2 separate regions of the Homo sapiens genome follow, and region 2 is linked to region 1. Evidence: promoter capture Hi-C in 16 types of primary human blood cells and fetal thymus (Javierre and others, 2016). All regions are on one chromosome and are shown on one strand. Each heading gives the region's core, a stretch centred on a gene start or on the middle of the fragment in contact. The rest is flanking DNA. Distances are from core to core; before and after follow the strand shown. Region 1 holds the start of KRT38 (keratin 38). Region 2 overlaps KRT40 (keratin 40).

What was found. Contacts are between HindIII fragments. The CHiCAGO score rates a contact against its expected background, and 5 or more counts as called.
Region 2: a contact is called between a fragment that was not itself captured here and the fragment with the promoter of KRT38 in region 1, in 5 of 17 cell types (naive CD8 T cells, activated CD4 T cells, naive CD4 T cells and 2 more). The highest score is 6.6, in naive CD8 T cells.

The regions. Positions count from the first base shown.
Region 1 is chr17:41,439,444-41,445,711 of GRCh38, reverse strand. KRT38 (keratin 38) reads left to right here and starts at 4,729. Exons shown (of 7, transcript NM_006771.4): 1 at 4,729-5,282; 2 at 5,469-5,551. The coding sequence starts at 4,791. RefSeq lists an enhancer at 4,573-5,073. The HindIII fragment of the contact is 7,679 bases long and covers 4,506-6,268 here.
Region 2 is chr17:40,977,121-40,982,706 of GRCh38, reverse strand. It overlaps KRT40 (keratin 40), which reads left to right. Exons shown (of 7, transcript NM_001389244.1): 3 at 244-400; 4 at 1,556-1,717; 5 at 1,797-1,922; 6 at 3,683-3,903; 7 at 4,411-4,992. The coding sequence ends at 4,510. LOC107985072 (a long non-coding RNA gene) reads right to left here. Exons shown (of 4, transcript XR_001752886.2): 3 at 2,100-2,258; 4 at 1-379. Among named protein-coding and RNA genes, the nearest start is that of KRT40, 4.4 kb to the left of the region's middle. RefSeq lists an enhancer at 2,100-2,701. The HindIII fragment of the contact is 2,975 bases long and covers 106-3,080 here.

The DNA of each region.
Region 1 (6,268 bases), core at 3,480-5,979:
CCCTGTTTCAAAAAAACAAAAACAAAACACACACACAAACAAACAAGGAAAAACACAGATTGCTGCCCCCTCCCCTGCACCCAGTGTATCTGCATTCAGTAGGTCTGGAGTGGGCATCTGAGAATGTGGATTTCTAACAAGTTCCTGCGAGATGCTGATGCTACTGGCTAAGAAACCAAACTCTGAGAACCACTGCCCTACAGGCTGACACGACCAGCTTAGGAAAATGTCCAGAGAGTAATTTTTCTCAACACAACATAAAAACCAACATAAATCTATACAGTTTTCTTTATCAAATGTCATCTCCTCTGTGCTGGCTTATCCCTGCCTAATGCTTGCTAAGTGCCTCACTTGGGCTTGTACCTTTCCTTTGTCAGTGTCACTATCTGAGAAAGACTTGAAGGTGACTTGAGAGAAGCATCCTGCATCAGCAGAGAAGGGTTGTTCCCAGTGATGTGCAATCAAACTAGCTGGTTCTGCCCTTTCCAGAGGCTGCCTGAGTTCGCAGCTGGGACCGTGGGGCCCTGGGGGGAACCACAGCATCTCAGTGACTGGTGAGAAGATGAAGCAGTTGTGGGTGGCACCATGGCCATAATGCCTTCCTCTTCTCTAGGGGCAGGTCTCTTGCCTGTGTCATCAAATGTGATCTACCTTTGGTTTCTCTGTAGGATTTATAAAAAAAATTACTATGTAAGAAATGTACTGTCAGGATTTTGGTTTTAGAAAGTGGGATCAAGTGGTACGCTGGAGCTAACTCTTATAACTCACAAGAGCCGATTTTTCACATCTCTTTCCAACTCCACATTCAGTGACATCATATTGTTTGCTTGAAGTTGGCTATTGTGGGAGTATTTACACCACAGAAATTGGCTTACACTACAAACTGGAGGGGTTTTCCCCCCAGAGAGCTAATTTGCCGGCATATCTCTGGTTGTGTATTTATCCACATTGCTTAAGAATCTATGATTTTACTTCATTGTTTCAGCATACAAATATCTTTGCTTGGTGCTACTGTGTTTCTCATTACCTGCTTACATAATTAAACACACATGGATGCAGAACCTACTCTGTAGCCGGGCTCTGTGCCAGAGTCTGGGGATATGGAGATGAAAGAGGAAAAAGCAATGAGACAAACTCCCTGATGTCCTGGAGATCCCAAGTCCATGGTGGGGAGCTACCACCTCTGATACAGCCACAGTTTCCCAGGGTGAGAAGAGTGTGTCAGCAGAGGGAGAGCAGCCTACCTGGGAAGCCAGAGAAGGCTTTGCAGAGAGCATGAGTGAGCCCACACAGCTCAATCTATCTGTGACAGAGAACGGCCACTGAGCTGTTTCAGACTCAGCATGTTTCATAATCATGGGTTTGTAATGAGCAACAGAAAGCAGTTCAATATTTTCCACAATGAGGATCTTTGACCTGTGCCAAAGATCTGTTTTTATTCTGGTTGAAACAGAATTCTATATTTTCTTCCCTTCTTAGGGTCTTGCTTCTCAAAGATTTTCCAACTCTTTCTAATTCATCTTCTGGAGTCTCTTCCCTCACTATTGCTTGCCAGGGCAGGGTGAGCCTCCTGAGCTACTCTCCAAGTGGGTCGATTGCAGTGAAGCCTGGAGCAGCAAATGATGCCATCAGAGGCAGGTGTGAGGCTCACAGGTCCCAACGCACGGGCCCCGGTTTCTGTGCCTATGTGCAGAGGTGGAAGCTCGTGACTGTCATCCACAGGAGAGGATAGGACTTGTTTCCCACACTCATGCCAACACTGTGTGCTATTATCCAACTTAGCAAAACCTGATAAGAAAACAATATCTCTTTAGTTTGTATTTCTTAATCACAAATGAGCATACATTCATATATAGATAAAATCATATTTAATTTGAACAGAAGTGTACCTTTTCCATTCATCAAAGCCTCAGGAGTTGGATACCTAGAATAATACATTTATATGCTCAGCCTCTTCTCTCAAGAGTCTTCATGGTTTCTTGATCTAGGATTGTTTGGGACACCATTTTCTAACACCCTGGAGATGTGGCAGCACTAACTCTACATATAGTACTTGTCATAAATCTTTGCATTCACTGCAATGTGTGATGGGTGACGTTCCCACACAGGGCACAACTCCCTAGATGCCTCCCTGCATCTTCCAGCAGTAGGAGCCATGACACAGAAAAGATAAACTTTGAGTTAGGCACAATCTCCAGGTGCTAGCCTACAGCTCCATACCTTTCTCTCCCATTGGTTGAGATATGCCCCTATGTATCAAAATTAGTGAAAATGGCATTCCAAGACCACAGCTCCTCACCTCCATTTGCAGTAGACTTCATGCCTCTAGAGATCGGCATGTCTAAAGTCAGAATCCACACAGAGAATGTTGTGCACACAGGTGAATGAAGGAGGGCAGCAGGCTCCCATCTCTCACACTCTGTATTCATCACTTCTTGTTACTGAACCTGGCCTCATATTCGGTCACCAGGGGCCACAGGGACTCTTTTTAAAGGGTTGGGAAGGAAGAGAGTCTTAGGATCCCCACCCGCTCCTTCACCTCCTTTGAGAAAATACAAATCAGGGGAACAAAGCGATTTTACAAAGAGCCATGCAACATCAGTATCATTATGCAAAACAGTACAAGGTAGAAGCCCAAGCCAGGACCCAAGCCAGTTGGCAGAGAGGGGTGTCATCTGGACACACAAGGCTTCAGCAGTGATGAGTCATGTATTGTGAATGGACGAAATCGTGGCTTTTAGTCCATGGAATGAATCTGGGCAGAGGATAAAGCCAAAAGATGGGTGCTACTTAGCAAATCAAAGGAAATGACTTTAAAAGCCTGGCTCTCTGATTTATAGAGAAGCTTGTTGCTATGTGATGAGGCGGAGGAGAGTAACAAAAGGGTGTTTGAAGATGTAACATATGCAGATTGCACCCAGTGGCCTCTGGAGGATGGGACAGCCTGCCCTGGTGATGTCTCCCAATGATGTTGTCTGTAAAGGGTTATGGATTGGTGAGCTCTGAATAACCCTTAGGTCAGCGCTCACTACTACTTACTTTCCTGAGAAGCCCAATCTGGACTGAATTCTCAGATTCTGTATTTCTTCTTGATAGAACTCCAATAGCCTGTGTTTCACATATGCACGTCTGATCCCTATAGAGGTGTATGTTCAGCTTTTGTTCAATGCTCAGGGGACTGGCAAAAACTCATTTTCCCAAAATTCTAGTTATAATCACTTTGGATTGTTCCACATTAGGTTTTTCTTAGTCTCAGGGGTCTATGTATCTTCTGTCACAAATTTTGGGAGAAAAGTTTTGGGATCTCAGCAGCCATGTGTCTTGGATCCCTAGTACCAAGAACTATCTGAATGTGGAATGTGTAATATAACCATTTTAGGGACAGGACTTTCCCCTGGCATCTTCTGATTTAGCCCTTGGAGAAACTCTGTTTTATTGTATGAATACCTCCACATCTGTATTTTCTGAGATACAAAGGGAAAAATACACAATGTCAGATTTTTGTTTTACATCTTAATTTCAACTTCTTGCCCGGTTTCTAGGAATTTGAATCCTTCTTAGTTCTAGCAATGACACAGTAGTTATCCTTGGGGTGGAGGATTTGGAGGTGGTCAAGGTGAAGAAACAGTTTCTGGAGTTGAAAGAAGCTGATGTTGAGAATAGGCTTTATACTTTATAGTGAGGTTGATCTTAGAAAACTGTCCTCAATGGCTTGTTTATTTATTTTGTAAAATTAAGAGTACCCACCTCCCAGGTTGGAAGTAAAGATTAAAAGGTATCATTGCTCAATCCCCTAGCTCATAGGGTGAAGGCTCATGACTGACTTTAGAATAAAGGAAGCAAGGTATGAAGAGAGCCCACAGAGGCTCTGATCACTCAATGTCCTTTGACTTTCATGACCAAGTTCTTATTTGAGGTTCAGTAAGATTATTGCTCATTTCTCTTTGTTTATTTCTGGCTTCTTGAGCTTGCCCTTCTTGGTCGAGATAAGCCATGGTTTTTGGAGTCATCCTCATTTTCATGAGCTTCTCAGATACCTTGTTTGAAACATCACGTCTACCCAAGTTACAGTTGTTCCCCAATGGCAGGAACTATTTTGTGCTTAACCAACTATATATCAAGCATCAGCAAGGTGCGTAGCATATGGGACGTAGCCAGGGGATGTGTTTTGAGTGACTGGATTCATCTAAGTCTTGTTGCTCCTCAAAGTGAGTCTGAAAGGCAACCAACTAAAGAAAGAAGAAATGTAGGACTTCTTGATAACCCAAGGCCATAACATCCACCAATTCCAAGACTCAGTTTCTTCCCTGGATAGGGAAGGCTGGTTGAGTCTTAACCCAAGTGAGAACCATTGTCATCACCGGGGTTAGTCCTCCTGCTACACCACTGACCAACAGGAAAGTTTGTGTCTCCAGAGTGGACACATCCATAAAGAGGCCAAACCCAGTCAAGGTCTAAGCATCTGATGGCTATAACTTTGCTTCTTTGAAAGATAATAAAAAGCTTCTGACCTCCCATCAACAGCCAACCTGATTTCAAAGAGCCAAGAGGCCTCAGATTCGTCAACATTCCTTTAACGAGCTGAGAAACTTTTCATGGTAAACTCAGCAGCTGAGTAACAGGATGATGGCACCACAACAGGTAGATAATCAAGGCAGGAGGTCAAAGCATTGGAGCCAACACCCGCCCAGGATGGGGTATAAAAGGGCTGGGAGGAGAGGAGGCTTCAGTCTCAGTGGTTCAGCTTTCCCAGCTGATCTGAAGCTCCTGTGCAGCCTCAGCCCAACACCATGACCTCTTCCTACAGCAGCTCCTCATGCCCTCTGGGTTGCACCATGGCTCCTGGAGCAAGAAATGTCTCTGTCTCTCCCATCGACATTGGGTGCCAGCCTGGGGCAGAGGCCAACATTGCCCCCATGTGCCTTTTGGCCAACGTGGCACATGCCAACCGAGTCCGTGTGGGGTCCACTCCCCTGGGCCGCCCCAGCCTCTGTCTGCCGCCTACCTGCCACACTGCTTGTCCCTTGCCAGGGACCTGCCACATTCCTGGCAACATTGGAATCTGTGGGGCCTATGGTGAAAACACCCTGAATGGCCATGAGAAGGAGACCATGCAGTTCCTGAATGACCGCCTGGCCAACTACCTGGAGAAGGTGCGCCAGCTGGAGCAGGAGAATGCGGAGCTGGAGGCCACACTCCTCGAGAGGAGCAAGTGCCACGAGTCCACCGTGTGCCCCGACTACCAGTCTTACTTCCACACCATCGAGGAGCTCCAACAGAAGGTGAGGTGTGGGATCGCTTGGGTGTGCTGGGTCTGAGATGGCAGAGGCAAGACAGGAGGAATCCATGTAAAGCTCAGAGAACTTTGGGTTCTTGGTTTCTCTTGGACATGATCATAGACACCACACGTGGAGAAGGAGCCTAGGGCATGATGCTTTGTGTGTGAACTGTCTTCCTGTTCTCCTCAGATCCTGTGCAGCAAGGCCGAGAATGCCAGGCTGATTGTACAAATTGACAATGCCAAGCTGGCTGCCGATGACTTTAGGATCAAGTAAGTCAGGCGGAGGAGGGCCAGGGTGACTCCTTCCCCACCCTCCATCCCAATGCCCAAATACTTGTTGAGTGAGGGAATCATTGTCATTTCTTCCTTGCTAGATTCTCTACAGTAAAATTTTCATTACAATCGAAGCTGATGGAAGATGGAAGGGAAAACTCCTCATTAATCCAAGCATATATGTTTGTCTTCCTTCATTTATTTCCCTAAAATGGAGGATAAGGCAGCCTGAGTTCATTAACCAGGAGCAAAATGAGGTGATTTGAAGGATGAACTGAGCAAGACAGCCATTGGGTTTCATATATAAGTCAGAGGAGTCACTTACAGATGAGTCTTTGTCCAGATTTAATTAGGGAGCCCTAAGGTACCAGGTATAAGGTACCTAGGCAAAAATGAGAGAGGGGAAGACAGCTGAAAGCAAGGGATAAGGAGCCGCAGATCACGATCAGGCACCTGGTTATTGCTTATCTTTGGTAACTGACAGCCCCTGCAATGGCATGAGCGTTGGACTGGGTCCCAAGATGCATGATCTTACGCAAGTCAGTTGATCTTCCTGAACTGCAGTTGCCACAGAATACAATGGCAAAAATGTATATTGTGCAATGTAGTGTTGTGATTTCTCCATTAGACCATGAGCTCTTTGAGAAGAGGGGCTGGGTCTAATTCACCTTTGAGGACAGAGGGCTAAACAGAGTGAATAAATGAGGATCCAAG
Region 2 (5,586 bases), core at 344-2,843, 460 kb after region 1:
AAATAACTTATGGCTCTCTCTCTCTCAATCTCTCTCTCTCACACACACACACACACACAAATATTCTCTATATAATATTTTAAAGTTAAGAATGTTTTAAAAGCTTGAATTTATCATTACTTAGGAATTAAGAGAAATTATGCACATGGCTTCCTGAAGTCCGTGTGTCGATCCTCCATGTATCCCCACACTTTGCACAGCGTTCAGCAAAGTAAGCGTTGGATTTCTCTTTTGCTGTGAAAGGTACGAGAGTGAACTGTCCCTTCGCCAGCTGTTAGAGGCTGACATCAGCAGCCTGCATGGGATCCTGGAGGAACTGACCCTGTGCAAATCTGATCTGGAGGCCCATGTGGAGTCTCTGAAGGAAGATCTCCTTTGCCTTAAGAAAAACCATGAAGAGGTAAGGAAAGTGGCAACTCCGCTGAAGGACTCCGAGAGTAACGTACTTACATTGACAGATGATCTGTTGATGTTTGTAAATCGAATTTGGGCAGATGTTGTTTAAGCTGGAATAAAACTACTTGAGGCAGGGCCAGGCATGGTGGCTCACACCTGTAATCCAAGCACTTTGGGAGGCTGAGGCAGGAGGATCACAAGGTCAGGAGTTCGAGACCAGCCTGACCAATATGATGAAACCTCATCTCTACTAAAAATACAAAAATTAGCTGGGCATGGTGGCAGGCGCCTGTAGTCCTAGCTACTCGGGAGGCTGAGGCAGGAGAATCACTTGAACTCAGGAGGCGGAGGTTGCAGTGAGCCGAGATCTTACCACTGCACTCCAGCCTGGGTGACAGGGCGAGACTCCATCTCAAAAAACAAACAAACAAACAAACAAACAAAAACTACTCGAGGCATTATTACTATTCAACCTGATCATTCCAGTGTGTCTCTGATTTAAGGTGTGAAATAACCCCTAGACAGCGCCAGAGGAAGGAATCAAACTCTTCTCCTGCCCTTGCCTTTGTGGAGGAGGTAACTTCACAAATGGCTTCCTTTGGAGGCTTTATGCCACCCCTAGCTCCAGTCCACAGGGTATGAAAATCAGGCTGAGGAACAGACTGTGAAGTCCATTTCAAAAAAGGGATAAAGACTGTGCACTATCTGGACCAGTGTTTTTAAATATTCCGCATTTATAAACTTCTAAAAATCATAAAATATACAGCCACTGATATATTGATAAAGCTAGAAAATGAAAAGCTGAATGATGTAACAAAGTACATTTGCTCTTTGAACGTTTGTTGATGACAATCATAGCTAACATTTATTGACACCTTACTATGTGTCATAATTAACTTTTATAAGTTAATTATGTGTAGATTGACTCTTCTAGATCTCACAATAACTTTCTGGAAAAATGTCCAATTATTATGTCCATTTTACAGACGAAGAAACTGAGGCCCTTCTAAGTGGTGAAAAGAGATTCAGCCCAGGCAATCTGAATCAAAATCTCACACTTTTACCCACTGCTCCAAAAAACAGAAGTAGAATGCCATTGGATGTCAAATGGATTTTTCCCCACCATTCTGTGACATTCTTTACACCATCCCACTTTCAGGAAGTCAACTTGCTTCGTGAACAGCTTGGCGACCGCCTCAGTGTGGAGCTGGACACTGCCCCCACCCTTGACCTCAACAGGGTCCTGGATGAGATGCGCTGTCAGTGTGAAACGGTGCTTGCCAACAATCGCAGAGAAGCTGAAGAATGGTTGGCTGTTCAGGTCAGTACCCAGATTGAAAAAATGTCAGGCTTACAGACTTCTGCCTTTTTTGAATTCTCTAATGGTGTCTGTGTTTCAGACAGAAGAGCTGAATCAGCAGCAACTGTCCAGCGCGGAGCAGCTGCAGGGCTGCCAGATGGAGATCTTGGAACTGAAACGCACAGCCAGTGCTCTGGAAATTGAGCTCCAAGCACAGCAAAGCCTGGTGCGTGAGGCAAAGGCAGTGTCCGTTGTGTCACTGATAAGTCAGGCCCTGAGATGTTAAGCCCTCTTCCATATCCGAGGATCACATTTCCTTGCCTTTCCCGAGTACTGCCGTTTACCCAGCTATTAATAGAAGCAGAAGTGACAGGTCCACAGCTTGTCCTCTAAGATGCCTTACCTTCACTCCTGGGCTTGAGTCTGATGCTGCAGCAGCCTCCAGAGACAGGGAGGGAGAAGCAGAGCTGGAGAGAAACCTCCGGGCCATGGTCGCTTAAGCATTCTGGCAGGTTTTAATTCTCATTTGATTCAGGCCAGTTTTCCAGGCTCACTGTTATATCTAAAACAAAGAATCATTTTCAAACATTTCATCCTACAGTTTCCCAGGATCTACACTTCAACCTTATCCTTCACTGCACCACCCCCCACTCAAGCAACAGGAACACCATGCGTTCAAGATGACATGAACCAGTTCTGGTCAAGCACCACTGTGTGCATGTCATTAGGCCCTGCGGAGAACACCTAGAAGAACAATAGCTGAGCATTCATCCTGTGAGAGGCACTATGCTGATTTAAGGCTCACAGTAACTTTACCGGATAGATACCTTTATCCCATGACACAGATAAGGAAAACTGAGACTCAGATTAAGTAACTTGCAAAGGATGCAATTCTAAGAGGCAAACTTGGAAGCTGAGTTCAGCCAGTTGAATCCCAGAGTCTCTTCTCTCTCTCTTTTTAAATTTATTTTTATTGATATATAATATGCGTAAATTTTTTTTACGTAGATGTGATATTTTGTTACATGCATAGAATGTGTAATGATCAAGTCAGGATATTTAGAGCATCCATCACCTCAAGTATTTATCATTTCTATGTGTTGGGAGCATTTCAAGTCCTCCCATCTAGCTATTTTGAAATGCACAGTGTATTGTTGTTAACTGTAGTCACACTTCTCTGCTGTCCAACATGAAAACATATTCTTTCTGTCTAACTGTATGTTTGCACCCATTAACCAACCTCTCTTCATCCCCTTACCACACATATGCCAGTCCCAGCCTCTGGTATCCAGAGCCTCTTCTCTTAATAGCACTATACTACCCCTCCCTGCCAAGAGCCCAAACTCAATCTTTCCTCTCATATGTTGTGGATAGTCCTTAAGCTTCACAAATATGTCATGTATTGCTGTAGTCATAGTGGTGGTAGTGATAGTTGACACGTAGAACAGTGGCAGTATGGCTGGCACTGTTCTAAATGCTTTACGCACATTAACTCTTTTTTTTTTTTTTTGGACGGAGTCTCCCTCTGTCGCCCAGGCTGGAGTGCAATGGCATGATCTTGACTTACTGCAAGCTTTGCCTCCCGGGTTCACACCATTCTCCTGAGTAGCTGGGACTACAGGCGTCCACCACCGTACCCAGCTAATTTTTTATATTTTTAGTAGAGACGGGGTTTCACCGTGTTAGCCAGGATGGTCTCGATCTTCTGACCTTGTGATCCGCCCGCCTCGGCCTCCCAAAGTGCTGGGATTACAGGCCTGAGCCACCGCGCCCAGCCCGCATATTAACTCTTAATCTTCACAACCGTCTAATGAAACAGATACTTTGTATTCTCCACTATACAGAGAATAAAACTGAGACTCACAGAAGCTAAATAATTTGCCAGTGGTCACATAGCTAGAAAAGGGTAAGCAGGAATTTGAAAGTAGGCACTCTGGCCCGAGAGACTGCACTTCATGGTCCTTTGGACAATGTTTCCTCCCGCAGACAGAATCTCTGGAATGCACCGTGGCAGAAACCGAGGCCCAGTACAGCTCCCAGCTGGCCCAAATTCAGTGTCTGATCGATAACCTGGAGAACCAGCTGGCCGAGATCCGCTGCGACCTGGAGCGACAGAACCAGGAGTACCAGGTGCTCCTGGACGTGAAGGCCCGGCTGGAGGGTGAGATCAACACGTACTGGGGCCTGCTGGACAGCGAGGACAGCAGGCAAGTTCCACAGTTACTCATGAAATCCCCCAGAGTCACAAAGAGGCTGATGTAAAAGAATCCTGTTTCCCCAAAGTCTGGACAAGTTCAGACCTCCCCAGTGTGTTTAGGGATCTTCTTAAAAAAGTGCTGAAAAGTGGCTGAGGTTAAGAACATGACACTAGAGATATTTTTAAAATATTCTAAAGGCAGATTAATTATTAGTGTAACATTTCATGCTGGCATCTCCCTTTGTTCCTGTTTTCCACTAAAGGAAAATCAGGAATAGGCCTAAGATAACATTTGCAAAATCAAGAAAAAATATAAAATACTATTCAACTGCCACTGCTACAGTGAACATGAAGTGGCAATTCTGGGTGCAGAGAAGAAACAGGCTTCAGTCAATGCTATTGTGCAGAGTTTTTTTCAGAACATAATTTGTAGGGCAAATTTTGACACGGTTTTTCTGAGTTGCCATTTTATCAACATTCCCTTGTTAATCTTGGTTGAAAATCGATTTTTCCCCAGGCTTTCCTGTAGCCCATGTTCGACCACATGCACCTCGAGCAACACTTGTGAGCCATGCTCAGCCTATGTCATCTGCACTGTTGAAAACTGCTGCTTGTGAATGTTAAGGACAGCAGGTAGAGGAATCAAAGCCAGCAGCATCCTAGAAAGGAGATGGGGCTTCAACCAGGGACATCCAAACCGGAAGCACAAATCCAGGAGGCTCTCATATCCTGGAATTGCCCTCCAGGTATCCTCAGTCTTTCTGCTTTACTATTTCCTCTCCTTCCGGCTTATTTGTGGTATACTGGAAGCCCATAAAGCATTCTTGCTCATCTCCAAATAAAACGTGTTTTATTCCTTTAGCGTGGTAAATATAGCTCTATGGCTGATTACTGTTGATAGAATATTCATTTTATGGCAAGGAAATCATCTAAACCCATAACCATAGTTTCAATGTACATAAACCCAGGCTGAAAATATTTTTTAACTCCTCAAATACAAATAAATTAATGAACCCATGAGAAATGTCATATATCTTAGAAAATAGTTGTGTGTATCTTTCTGAGGAAAAATATTAGGAATAAAATATGATAAAATGTATTTTTTGATTATAAAAGTACTAGATTCTCTTTTTTTAAATTTGGCTCATTAAAAGGGAAAAGGTCACTTATGATTTCATCTTCCAAACAGCCATAGTCAATATTTTGGGGTACTTTCTTCCAGTTTTCTTTCTTATAATAGATTTTTCCACACAGCTATAATCATACTAACATATGCACACACTTGTGTAAACTTTCTTTCATTTATGTCATCTAAGCATTTTTAATTCTAATAAAAACATAAGATTGTATTGTAGCCATCACTTTTTTTATTTTTTATTTTTTTTTTGAGACAGAGTCTTGCTGTGTCACCCAGGCTGGAGTGTAGTCACACTATCTGGGCTCACTGCAACCTCTGCCTCCTGGGTTCAAGCGATTCTCCTGCCTCAGCCTCCCAAGTAGCTGGGACTACAGGTGTCTGCCACCACACCAGGCTAATTTTTTTTTTTTTTTAGTAGAGACAGGGTTTCACCGTGTTAGCCAGGATGGTCTCAATCTCTTGACCTTGTGATCCACCAGCTTCAGCCTCCCAAAGTGCTGGGATTACAGGTGTGAGCCACTGCACCCAGCCTGTAGCCATCATTTTACTGGTTGC